Regions from separate parts of the Homo sapiens genome. Here region 2 is linked to region 1. The links are contacts of gene promoters, found by promoter capture Hi-C in human tissues and cell types (Jung and others, 2019). All regions are on one chromosome and are shown on one strand. Each heading gives the region's core, a stretch centred on a gene start or on the middle of the fragment in contact. The rest is flanking DNA. Distances are from core to core; before and after follow the strand shown.

Evidence for each region. Contacts are between HindIII fragments. The study calls those that stand out against the background at their distance.
Region 2: the fragment with the promoter of SLC2A7 here is called in contact with the fragment with the promoter of CA6 in region 1 in 3 of the 25 tissues and cell types used here (IMR-90 fibroblasts, adrenal gland and mesenchymal stem cells).

What each region holds. Positions count from the first base shown.
Region 1 is chr1:8,943,463-8,949,369 of GRCh38, forward strand. It overlaps CA6 (carbonic anhydrase 6), which reads left to right and starts at 2,406. Exons shown (of 8, transcript NM_001215.4): 1 at 2,406-2,503; 2 at 5,801-5,907. The coding sequence starts at 2,425. The HindIII fragment of the contact is 10,958 bases long and covers 1-5,907 here.
Region 2 is chr1:9,024,122-9,030,028 of GRCh38, forward strand. SLC2A7 (solute carrier family 2 member 7) reads right to left here and starts at 2,302. Exons shown (of 12, transcript NM_207420.3): 1 at 2,174-2,302; 2 at 855-953. The coding sequence starts at 2,224. The HindIII fragment of the contact is 20,163 bases long and covers 1-5,907 here.

The DNA of each region.
Region 1 (5,907 bases), core at 1,156-3,655:
AGGGGCTGCTGGCATCACAGCTTCACAGACGCAGTATGTGCACTGTATTTTAAGGAGCTGTGTGAGGCAAGGAACGCCCCAGAGCTCTCCTGGGAAGCCCCAAATGCTCACCGCAGGGCAGTGAGACCCGTGGGGCTGGGAGCTGCCAGGAGTGGTGGGCCCTCTGCATTTCACTGTGCTCTCCCGCAAGCACTCCTCTCTCTGACTCTCCAGGGCCCCTCTTTGGGCAGTCTTCCCCTCCCCCTTGGCCCAGGCTTTCTCTGAGCTCCTTCCTGCTCCAGTTCCCCTCGCCTGGGCTCATCCAGTCCTCCCAGGCTTCCGTGACAGCCTGACATTTTAGTCTCTGCCTGCCTGCAGCTCCCTGATTCTTTCTGGGTCTCCCAATTCAGATTCCCAAGAAAAAATTCAGATGACTGAGTTTGTGTTTTCCTGCCAGTTTGATGTCAGGGGTCCTGCCTGGGCTTGTAAAGGGTCTTGGTCTCCTCAGCAGAGGTGGGGCCTTGTGATTTACAAGGTGGCCCTTTCCGCAGGGCTGGGAGTCAGCAGGTGGGCGTCACTGGTTTAGCAAGGACAGAAGAGTAGGTTTCTCATTTTTGCAAAGAAATGGTCCATAAGCTGGAGATTGAAGCATTTTTCCTCCAGTTCCCTCACTAACCAGCTGGGTGGCAATGATAAATCACTTCCTTTTCCTATAAAATGAGGGGTCTGAATAGATGCTAATGCCATTTGCTACACACCAGGCACTGCTCCAACTACTGCAGGCACATTTATTGCCGAATCCCCACAAAGGAGGTGCTATCACTAACTCCTTTTAAAGAAAGGAGGCGGCCAGGTGCGGCGGCTCACGCCTGTAATCCCAGCACTTTGGGAGCACGAGGCGGGAGAATCGCTTGAGTCCAGGAGTTTGAGGCCAGCCTAAGCAACATGGTGAAAACCTGTATCTACAAAAAGTACAAAAATTAGCAGGGCGTAGTGGCATGCGACTGTGGTCCCAGCTACTTGGGAAGCTGAGGCAGGAGGATTGCTTGAGTCCAAGAGAAGTGAGCTGAAATCGTATCATTGCACTCCAGCCTGGTGACAGAGAGAGACCCTGTCTCAAAAAAGAAAGAAAGAGAGAAAGAGAGAAAGAAAAGAAAGAGAGAAAGGAAGAAAGAAAGAGAAAAAAGAAAAGGAAGGAAAGCTGAGGCACAGAGCGCTGAGTTGCCCATGGTCACACAGTTAGCAGGTGGCACAGATCCTGTCTAGTTTCAGAATCCTTGTCCTTGAACATGCTTTGCTCTCTCTCTGAGATTCTTTCAGCTCTTGAGCTTTAGAAATGGAAGTTTCCAGCAAGTTCTTTGCAGCAGCTGATGTTCCCTATTAAATGACAGTGGGGAGTCTTAGAAGTATTCGGGAGGCCTACGTTCACCGCTAACATCCTTGTTGTGAAGGCCTGCTGACGTTTGCCATTCCAGGACCAAGTGGACAATGAGTTAAGCTAGGCCAGGAGGGGGTTCAGCTCCCCATAACAAGGCAGGGGTGGCCCTTTGTGTCCGGCAGCATGGTAGCCCCCCCGCAGGAGCTCCGGCTACCCTTTGTGTTTGACCTTGTGGAAGGGCATGGGAAATGCTGGCCTGTCAGCAGGCATAAACTCAAAAGTTTCTCCTTCAGCTAATTTCAGGGACTGTCTAGCCAAGTGAATACACAGGATTAGGTAATCCATGGATCCTGCGAGGGCAATTGGCTGATTGGCTTAGGTGTGCCCAAGAGCCCTGCAGGTGTCAGAACAAATCCATGTAGAAATGCAGACGCCCACACCAGCTTGAATGGCATAAAGGCACACATTGGAATGTGGCTCATGAGCTGGGACCCAGGATCAACCACTGGTTTAAGGAGAGGACCGTGAAATGTCCAAACATGGAGGCCAGGCCACCTCCCTGGATGCCTGGCTGAGGGCAGCCACATGTCTGCAGCGGTGGCTTGTGTCCATGACTGAGATGGGCAGGGTTTGCAGGCAGTGGTGATCCCATCAGCAGTCCCCAGATCTCTAATGTCAGGAGAAAGAGCATGGGAAGTCCGACGTCCAGGAAAGTCTTTCATCCTGCTTCTCCCTGCCTTGGGCCTTTTCCCATTTCCGCGGTCACCTGTCCACAATGGCTGCACTGTGTGGCTCTTCAGGTGTTCCTAAGACACTGAACAACCAAACCCATGGACTGACCGGATATGAAATTGACGTGGGAGGAGATCAGGCAGGTGCTGGGGCTGCCTGGCGCAATGCACGGAGCCAGAAGTGCTGTTATGGGGAGGGTGTTATTGTTTTAGTGGGTGCAGCAAAGGGTGGTTTAGCCAGCTGGGCAGATCAATTGTAAATTGTTATTTACAGTTTCTGAGCCTTTAAAAGAAGAGCTTCGCCGGAATCAGTCTTCATTACAGATGTGCAGCACCATGAGGGCCCTGGTGCTTCTGCTGTCCCTGTTCCTGCTGGGTGGCCAGGCCCAGCATGTGTCTGACTGGACCTACTCAGGTGAGCCCCTAGCTTCTGCATGCTCCCCCAGTTACCCTCACACCCTTACAACAGGACAAGTGCCCTTCTTCTTCTTCTTTTTTTTTTTTTTAGACAAAGTCTTGCTCTGTTGCCCAGGCTTGAGTACAGTAGTGTGATGTTGGCTCACTGCAACCTCCGCCTCCCGGGTTCAAGTGATTCTGCTGCCTTAGCCTCCCGAGTACCTGGGATTACAGGTGCCTGCCACCATGCCTGGCTAATTTTTGTATTTTTAGTAGAGACAGGGTTTCACCATGTTGTCCAGGCTGGTCTCGAACTCCTGACCTTAGGTGATCTGCCCATCTCCCAAAGTGCTGGGATTACAGGCATGAGCCATTGCGCCCGGCCAAGAGTCCTCCTTTAGGGCATTTCACAGGATGGCCAGGCAGCCCACTTGCCATATGTTGGGGGTCTGCTCATTGTGGCTTCAGATGTTACCTTTTCAGTGTCTCAGAAGGTATGGAGAATAAGCTGAACTTAAACTTCAAATAAGGAAAAGAAGGAAATAGCTTTCCCCTTCACAAACTCCTGATTTACTTACAGGCTTTTTGCTTTAAATTTTTTTCCATCCACAGTGTTGGCTGGTTCAAAAGCACACTCACTGCTTCTATTTGTAAAACCATTTGCTTTGTTGGTCCGTGTAAGTGGAAAACAAAGTTCTTAGAAAAGACTCTCGGTAACCTCACGGAAGGTGCTGTGGGGTTTGCGAGACCTTCTTTCTTGGAAATTTCATGGTAGGCAGTTTACCCAGAACATCTTGACATAAGGACCCAGTTCCCTTTGATCTGTGGGCTGCCAAAATGAGAGGTGTTTTTTTTTTTGTTTTTTTTTTTTTTTTGAGACAGAGTCTTGCTCTGTTGCCCAGGCTGGAGTTCAGTGGTGCCATCTCGGCTTACTGCAACCTCTGCCTCCTGGTTTCAAGCGATTCTCATGTCTTAGCCTCCCAAGTAGCTGGGATTACAGGCACTCATCACCATGCCTGGCTAACTTTTGTATTTTTAGTGGAGATGGGGTTTTACCACGTTGGCCAGGCTGTTCTCAAACTTCTGACCTCAAGTGATCCGCCCACCTTAGCCTCCCAAAGTGCTGGGATTACAGGCGTGAGCCACCGCGCCAGGCCCCAAACCAGACTTTTAAAATGTGAAATGTAAAATCCTGGCATTCAACATGGGTTCTGGTCCACATGTGAGCCAAAGCTAGAAGGCCGTGTCTGTGGACTTTGTGGACACTAAACAGCCCTTTCCAGGGGCAGTGAGGAGAGCTTCTTCCCGCATCCCCCTTCTTTCCATACGGGACCATGGATTGGGGCCCATGAGGAGGCTGGTGGCCGCTGGCTGATGCAGGAAGTGAGACAAACATCTGCTTCCTGCAGAGTCTGCCCCAGTTCAGCTGCTCCGGAAGCATTCCTTCAGGGTGAACGGGATGATCTGTTAAGTCAAGGGCAACGGAATTAGGGACATCCTGGGAGGTTCAGAAAGTCCAGCCAGCTCTGAACAACCGCTCTGTTCCTGAGGACAGTGATCTTACACATGGCAGTGCCTCGGAAGCCTGGGGCATTCTGCTTCACTTGGCCAAGCAGTGCAGGCAGGTGGTTCAGAGGTGAAGGAAGAGAGAATTCAGACAATGAAGTCCTTGTCCTTCCCAGGCTCTGCCCAGCCTCTGAGACAGTGGGCTTCCTGGGAAACTACTAGGGGCTCCAGGAGAACTTGAGAGTAGCTTTTGTAAATGCCTTCCAGGGAAACCTGAGAGATGTTCCAGTATTGACAGTGCCCTGGGCCAAAGCATCTTGCTCTGAGAAGGCGTTGTGCTCCAGGCCAATTGCCTTGATTACAAACCAAAAAGCGGTGAGGGCCCTAGTACAGACACCTTTTTTTTTTTTTTTGAGAGTTTCACTCTCGTTGCCCAGGCTGGAGTGCAGTGGCGCGATCTCGGCTCACCGCAACCTCTGCCTCCTGGGTTCAAGTGATTCTCCTGCCTTAGCCTCTCAAGTAGCTGGGATTAACGGCATGTGCCACCATGCCCGGCTGATTGTTTTTTATTTTTAGTAGAGATGGAGTTTCTCCAGGTTTGTCAGGGTGGGTCTCGAGCTCCCAACCTTAGGTGATCCACCCGCCTCGGCCTCCCAAAGTGTTGGGATTACAGGCATGAGCCACCGTGCCCAGCCACAAACACCTGTCTTAAAACAAGCTGTGTACTCACCACACAGCTACCCCCGAACAGGGAACAGAGGTGGGATTCTCCATGTCACATGGCTGACTCCAAGCTCCACAGCTGTATGGGAGCCAAGTCACCATGATAATCACTCACCTATGTTACTCTGTCCCCTACGATTATCAACCCTCTCTGAAAAGATAAACTTTCTCCTTATGAATTTTAAAAAAGTACTCATTCTAGGTTGTCCTGGAACCTGATGCTTCCTTAGTTTCCCTGAATCCATAAGTGTAGACACCTAGATGGTCTTTACCATACGGGAATCCATAAAAGGGGCTGGAGCAAGAAAATAGTGGTGGGGGGTTCCTGCAGCATGGGGAGGTGGGGGCTGTGTTCCTGTTGGGGGCATGGAAGGACAACTGGGCCCTTGGGAGGAAATGAGGAAGAGGCCCCAGGAGCAGCACAGGAAGAGCAAAGCCAAGGATCCCTCCATGCATTCACCAGCTGGAAATAAGTCAAACGAGAGCAAAAATTTACGTATAAAACACTCTCAGGCCGGGCACGGTGGCTCACGCCTGTAATCCCAGCACTTTGGGAGGCCAAGGTGGGTGGATCACCTGAGGTCAGGAGTTAGAGATCAGCCTGGCCAACATGGTGAAACCCCGTCTCTACTAAAAATACAAAAATTAGCCAGGCGTGGTGGTGCATGCCTGTAATCCCAGCTACTCCGGAGGCTGATGCCGGATAATCTCTTGAATCTGGGAGGCAGAGGTTGCAGTGAGCCAAGATTGCACCACTGCACTCCAACCTGGGTGACACAGCGAGACCCTGTCTCAAAAAAAAAAAAAAAAGACTTCCATTGATTTCAAAACACTGTCTTGCTCCCAGGGCCAGCAGTTGCCACAGGAAAGTTAGAGGTTAGCACCAAAGCCCCCCAAACACCAGAGTCCTTGGAGTTGACCTCGTTGTCTTTTTGGCCTCCTTCTGGGGGACCTGCTTCTGCTTTCTGGAAGGTGCCTCCGTGGGTCCCCGCCCAGCAGGCCCTGGCCTCTGGCCTCTGGCCTGGTGAGGTTCCTCCAGAGTGGGCGCAGCCAGGCAGCCCCTTGAACTGTGTCTTTCCTGTCTTAGAAGGGGCACTGGACGAAGCGCACTGGCCACAGCACTACCCCGCCTGTGGGGGCCAGAGACAGTCGCCTATCAACCTACAGAGGACGAAGGTGCGGTACAACCCCTCC
Region 2 (5,907 bases), core at 1,052-3,551, 81 kb after region 1:
CCAAAGTGCTGGGATTGCAGGCGTGAGCCACCGCTCCCAGCCCAGGAAATATTTTTACTAATTGTGTGACTTCAGGCAAGTTACAGAACCTCCAGAAACCTTAATTTCCTCATCAGTTATGGAAACAAGATGTACCTTATAAAGAATGTGTTAGCATTAAATGTGATTAAGTGATGGTACATTGCTTGACTCGGAGGTTCCATCCATGGTAATAATTGTAAGTACACTAATATATGTATATATACGTAATACACAAACAAATGTAATACAGTGTCTGTAGACATGCTAATATATGTATACAAGCGTAAGCATAGACGTATACCAAGGTCAAGCCTGTAGTCAGTTCTCAGTCCTCATCTGAGCTCATCAGCACAGGCTGTCCCTCCCTCCTTGACTCTCATCCTTTACTAGGTTTTGGGGACATTCTGCCCTCAGGGTCTTCCACACCTGCAAGGGCCCCTTCTCTTTTTCCTTTTTTCCCCTTTGCCCCAATCCCTAAATGCCACAGAGTTCAATCTTTGACCCCATTCTCTTTCCAATCAACAAGGGGCCTACCCAAGGTGAGAGCAGTGGGACCTGAGGCCCAAAAAGACTGGGCTGGAAAATGGAACAGGTCCCCCAGCATCCCAATGTGCCCGGAAAGGACGACACTCCAGGGGGAAACACCTCCTGCCACGCCCTGGTCTCCAGGGGTGAGCATCCAGGGTACTAGGGCAAGCTGGCTGCTCCCAAAGGCAAGATGGTGCCTCCTACAGGCAAGATGGCAGCCTCCACGGAGGAAGATGGCGGCTACCTTCCACCCACGACCCCGGTCAGCTGCTGCCCGGCCCACCTTGTGCCCACCTTGTGCCCACCTTGTGCGGCGTGTTGACCACAGAGAGGTTGTAGCCGTACTGGAAGGCTGAGCCAAAGGCCGCGCTCAGTGTCGCCAGCAACAGCGTCGGCTGGAGCCGCTGTAGGAGACAAGTCCAAGGTCGGGACGCTGTGGGCTTGGGCCTCGGGAAGTGGAGTGGCTGGGCCTCCACCTCCCTCCAGCCTGGGCTGGAAGTGGGGGATGGGGGATCCCAGGCCGTGCCCCCGGAAAAGAGGAGGAGGTGGCGCAGGGCTGGGGCTTTTGGGGGCTGAGGTCTCTGCACGCATTCATTCCCTCCTTGAGGATGTATCTGAGCATCTGCTACGTGCCTGGCCCTGTACTAGGCCCTGGAGGCCAAGTGTGAAGTAGGGGATGCTTTAGGAAAAAGGCCCAGCAAAGCACTGCCTTTAAGAAGCTCACTTTCTAGTGAGGGGAGCCCACCCCGTCCAAGAAAGACAAAGATGATAATTCCAAATAGCTAGAATGCTGTGAGGACAATAAAATAGGGTGATGGGTGGGGTAGCAGCCTGTGAGGAATGAGAGACTGTGTTCAGTAGGGTGGGCAGGGCAGGGAAGGCCTCTCTGAGCAGGCGCCCTTTGAGCCGGGACCAGAATGGATGAGAGGGAGCAGCTGTGTAAGCATCGGGGGGAAGAGCATCCCAGACAGAGGGACTCATTGCTTGCCTCTGCCTCTAGAACAGGCCCTTAGGAAAATCCCGGCAGTCGCCTGTGCTCAGGGCCAGGCTTTCCATGGTTGCCACAACACCCAGGGCAGCTTGGAGGGGAACTGGCCTGAGGGCCAAAGTCTGAGGAGCAGGTGGGCAGGGTCTCTGACCATGTCCTAGAGCCAAGGCCCTGGTGCATGCCCCCTCCCCACTGCCCCCTCCACCCCTCACTCCTGTTCCACATGTCCTCACCCCAACCCTCACACTTAGCTGCCTGGCTGCCCACAGCCCGTAGCTCTGCACATCCAGGAACAACCAGACAGAAGGGCAGGATTCGGGCATTCTTCAGAGGCCATCTCCCCTCGATCTTTAAGGGTAGGGGAAGCGGAGGGGAGCAGGGGTGGAAGGGAGAGAGGCATCTCCAGCACCATCCGCTCTCCCAGCATTCGCTCAGCCACCCTGGCCCATGTCTGAGCCATGAGGTTTGAGCATAGCTGCTTCTCCACATGGCTCTCCCAGGCCTGGTTATCCTGAAGAAAAAGGAAGCACGCTACCCGCTCCTTGCTAAAAGCATTCCACGGCCTTCACCTCCCTCCACAGGTCTGCACAGCTGGTGGGAGAGGGACAGTGACAGGTTCCTAGTCTTGGCACTTACCCCCTCCCTGGATGGAATGGGTGGAGGGGTTCCCGCCTCTTTGTTCTCCATCCTTGTTCAGGTGGGAGAACAGGTGTGCTCTACCTCCCAAGTGACACCTGCTCTGCGCCAGCCACCTAAAGACCGGCTGTTTCTCCCCTGGGCCTACCTGGCTTTATGATCCTTTTGCTCTCTGGACCCTGCTGACTTTCCCCAGGAGCAAATTCTCCTTGGAAATGTTGATAAGACACACGTTGCCAGTGCACAAATCATACACAGCACGAATTTCGTCTTTGCACCCACCAAGCCCCAAGCCGAAAGCTCCCTAGTTGCACCAAGGAGAGAGAAAAAACATTGCCTGACATTGGTCCGCAGAAATGAGGACTTTCAGAGACCCAGTGAGGCTGTGACCTGGATCTAGGATGCTTTTTCTGTGTCATTTTTCCATGTATGCCTCTTTTTTTTTTGAGACAGGGTCTTCCTTTGTTGCCCAGGCTGGAGTGCAGTGGCGCAATCTCAGCTCACTGCAACCTCGGCTTCCTGGGCTCAAGCTATTCTCCTGCCTTAGCTTCCCAAGTAGCCGGGATTATAGGCACGTGCCGCCACACCCAGCTTTTTTTTTTTTTTTTTTTTTTTTTTGAGGTGGAGTCTCGCTTTGTCGCCCAGGCTGGAGTGCGGTGGCGCAATCTCAGCTCACTGCAAGCTCTGCCTCCCGGGTTCACGCCATTCTCCTGTCTCAGCCTCCTGAGTAGCTGGGACCACAGGTGCCTGCCACCATGCCTGGCTAATTTTTTTTTTGTATTTTTAGTAGAGACGGGGTTTCACCGTGTTAGCCAGGATGGCCTGGATCTCCTGACTTCATGATCTGCCCGCCTCGGCCTCCCAAAGTGCTGGGATTACAGGCGTGAGCCACCGTACCCAGCCTTTTTTTGTGTGTTTTTAGTAGAGATGAGGTTTCACCATGTTGGCCAGGCTGGTCTAGAACTCCTGACCTCTAGTGATCCGCCTGCCTTGGCCTCCCAAAGTGCTGGGCTTACAGGCATGAGCCACCGCACCTGGCTTTTTTTTTTTTTTTAACTTTTATTTTAGGTTCAGGGTATATGTGAAGGTTTGTTACATAGGTAAACTCGTGCCACGGGGGTTTGTTGTACAGATTATTTCATCACCCAGGTATTAAGCCCACTTCCCAGTGTTTGTTTGCTGCTCCTCTCCCTCCTCCCACCCTCCAGCCGGAAGTAGATCCCAGTGTTTGCTGTTCCTTTCTGTGTGTTCCTAGGTTCTTCATATATGCCTCCTCTTGTGCATTTGGACTAATTGTCCATTTGGGGGAAAGAACAAATTAAACACTTTCAGAAAAACACAGTTATTATTTCTAATTACACTAAATAGTGTTAAATAAGTCAATAAAATATTGGACAAAGGTGCTTATTTCAGAATCATTTCTACTAGCATTTTTTTTTTAAAGTAGAGAATGATTGAATAAATTAGGAGTAACTAATTGATTGGAATGCCAGACTTCTGTTTCAAAGGATAATTATGAAATGTGGGAACATGGAAACATTAACATGTTTTTTAATTAACATGACCTTTAAGAGAAGTGATCAAAGCAGAATACACATAGTATACCTGGGGAAGGCCAGGGTGCGGTGGTTCATGCCTATAAGCACAGCACAATGAGAGGCTGAGTGGGTGGAGGATTGCTTGAGCTCAGGAGTTCAAGACCAGCCAGGGCAACATGGTGAAACCTCATCTCTACCAAAAATACAAAAATCAGCTGGGCATGGTGGCATGCCCCCGTGGTCCCAGCTACTTGGGAGGCTGAGGTAGGAGGATCACTGGAAAACAGGAGGCTGAGGCTGCAGTGAGGCATGATCACACCACTGCACTCCAGCCTGGGTGATAGAGCGAGAACCTGTTTCAAAAAAAAAAAAAAAAAAAAAAAGGATACCTGGGGGAAAATGTGTTTGCCCATGGGTGGTAACAGGTGGGTAAATGACAAGACTGAGAGAATGAAAGGTCCTTATTTATGTTTATCCTGCTCCTGCTCCTGACTATGTTGTAGGTATTTTCTCTCTCTCTCTCTTTTTTTTTTTTTTTGAGACAAAGTGTTGCTGTGTTGCCCAGGCTGGAGTGCAGTGGCGTGGTCATGGCTGACTGTCGCTTCCGGCCTCCAGTGTTCAAGCAATCCTCATGCCTCGGCCTCCCAAGTAGCTGGGATTACAGGCGTGCCCCACCATGCCCAGCTAATTTTTGCATTTTTTTTGTTTTTTAGACAGAGTCTCACTCTATTGCCCAGGCTGGAGTGCAGTGGCCAGGAGGAGGAGGTGGCACAGGGCTAGGCGCTCTTGGGGGTGAGAGGCATGTGGTCTCATATGCCTTGGTTCACTGCAACCTCCGCCTCCTGGGTTCAAGTGTTCTGCCTCAGCCTCCTGAGTAGCTGGGACTACAGGCGTGTGCCACTATGCCTGGCTAACTTTCATATTTTTGGTAGAGAGGAGATTTTATAATATAGGCCAGGCTGGTCTCAAATTCCTGACCTCAGGTGATCCACCCTCCTCGGCTTCCCAAAATGCTGGGATTACAGGTGTGAGCCACCTTGCCTGACCATGTATTTTCAATAGAGATGGAGTTTCAGCATGTTGGCCAGGCTGGCGTTGAACTCCTGGCCTCAAATGATCTGTCCACTGCGGCTTCCCAAAGTACTGGTGTTAGAGGTGTGAGCCTCTGCACCCTGCCTGTTGTAGGTATTCTCTAAAGGGATAGGCATTTTCTCCACTCTGCTCCTCCCTCCTTTCTGAGTCCTCACCAGCAGGGTCATTAACATTCATATTTTTACTAACAGTCTGTTCAAGGTAATCTAGGCTTTTTATAGCATGCTTCTAAAAATTCTCCCAGCCTCTTCTCATTGTGCAATGCTAAAGCCATTTACATACTTTTAGCTATTTAGGTATTAACAGCAGCACTCCATTTCCCAATACCAAAATCTCTATATTAGTTTTCTATGGCTTTTGTAACAAATTACCAAAAACGTAGTGGCTTAAAACAACACATATTTATCATCTTAGGGGTCTACGTGTCATAAGTCTGACATGGGTCTCACTGGGCTAAAATAAAGGAATCTGCCATGTTACGACACAGCAGGAAGGTCCTCACCAGATGCAGCTCCTCAATCTTGGACTTCAGCCTCCAGAATCATGAGCCAAACACACTTCTGTTGCTTATAAATTGCCTACTCTGTGGTATTCTGTTATAGCAACACAAAATGAACTAAGACATCTGGTAAGAGCAGGGACCCTAGCCAAATTTTCACAGATGGCTCTGGTGACCCACTTGGAGTTCAAGGGTGCAAGGAGGGAAAAGGCATGCATGGTGTTTATCTTCCTGGCTACACTGTAAATTCCTAAAGACAGAAGATGCCATGTATGTATCACTTGCATGTCCCAGTGCTGTGCAGAATGTAGGATGACAAGAGCAGCCCCTCAAACAGCACTGTTAGGGCCAGGTGTGGTGGCTCATGCTGGTAATCCTAACACTTTGGGAGGCCGAGACTGGTGGATCACTTAAGTTCAGGAGCTCAAGACCAGCCTGTGCAACATGGTGAAACCCTGCCTCTACAAAAAATACAAAAATTAGCTGGGTATGGTGGCATGTGTCTGTAGTCCCAGCTACTAGGGAAGCTGAAGGGGGAGGATCACTTGAGCCTGAGTGGTGGAGTTTGCAGATTGCTGAGATAGTGCCGTTGCACTCTAGCCTGG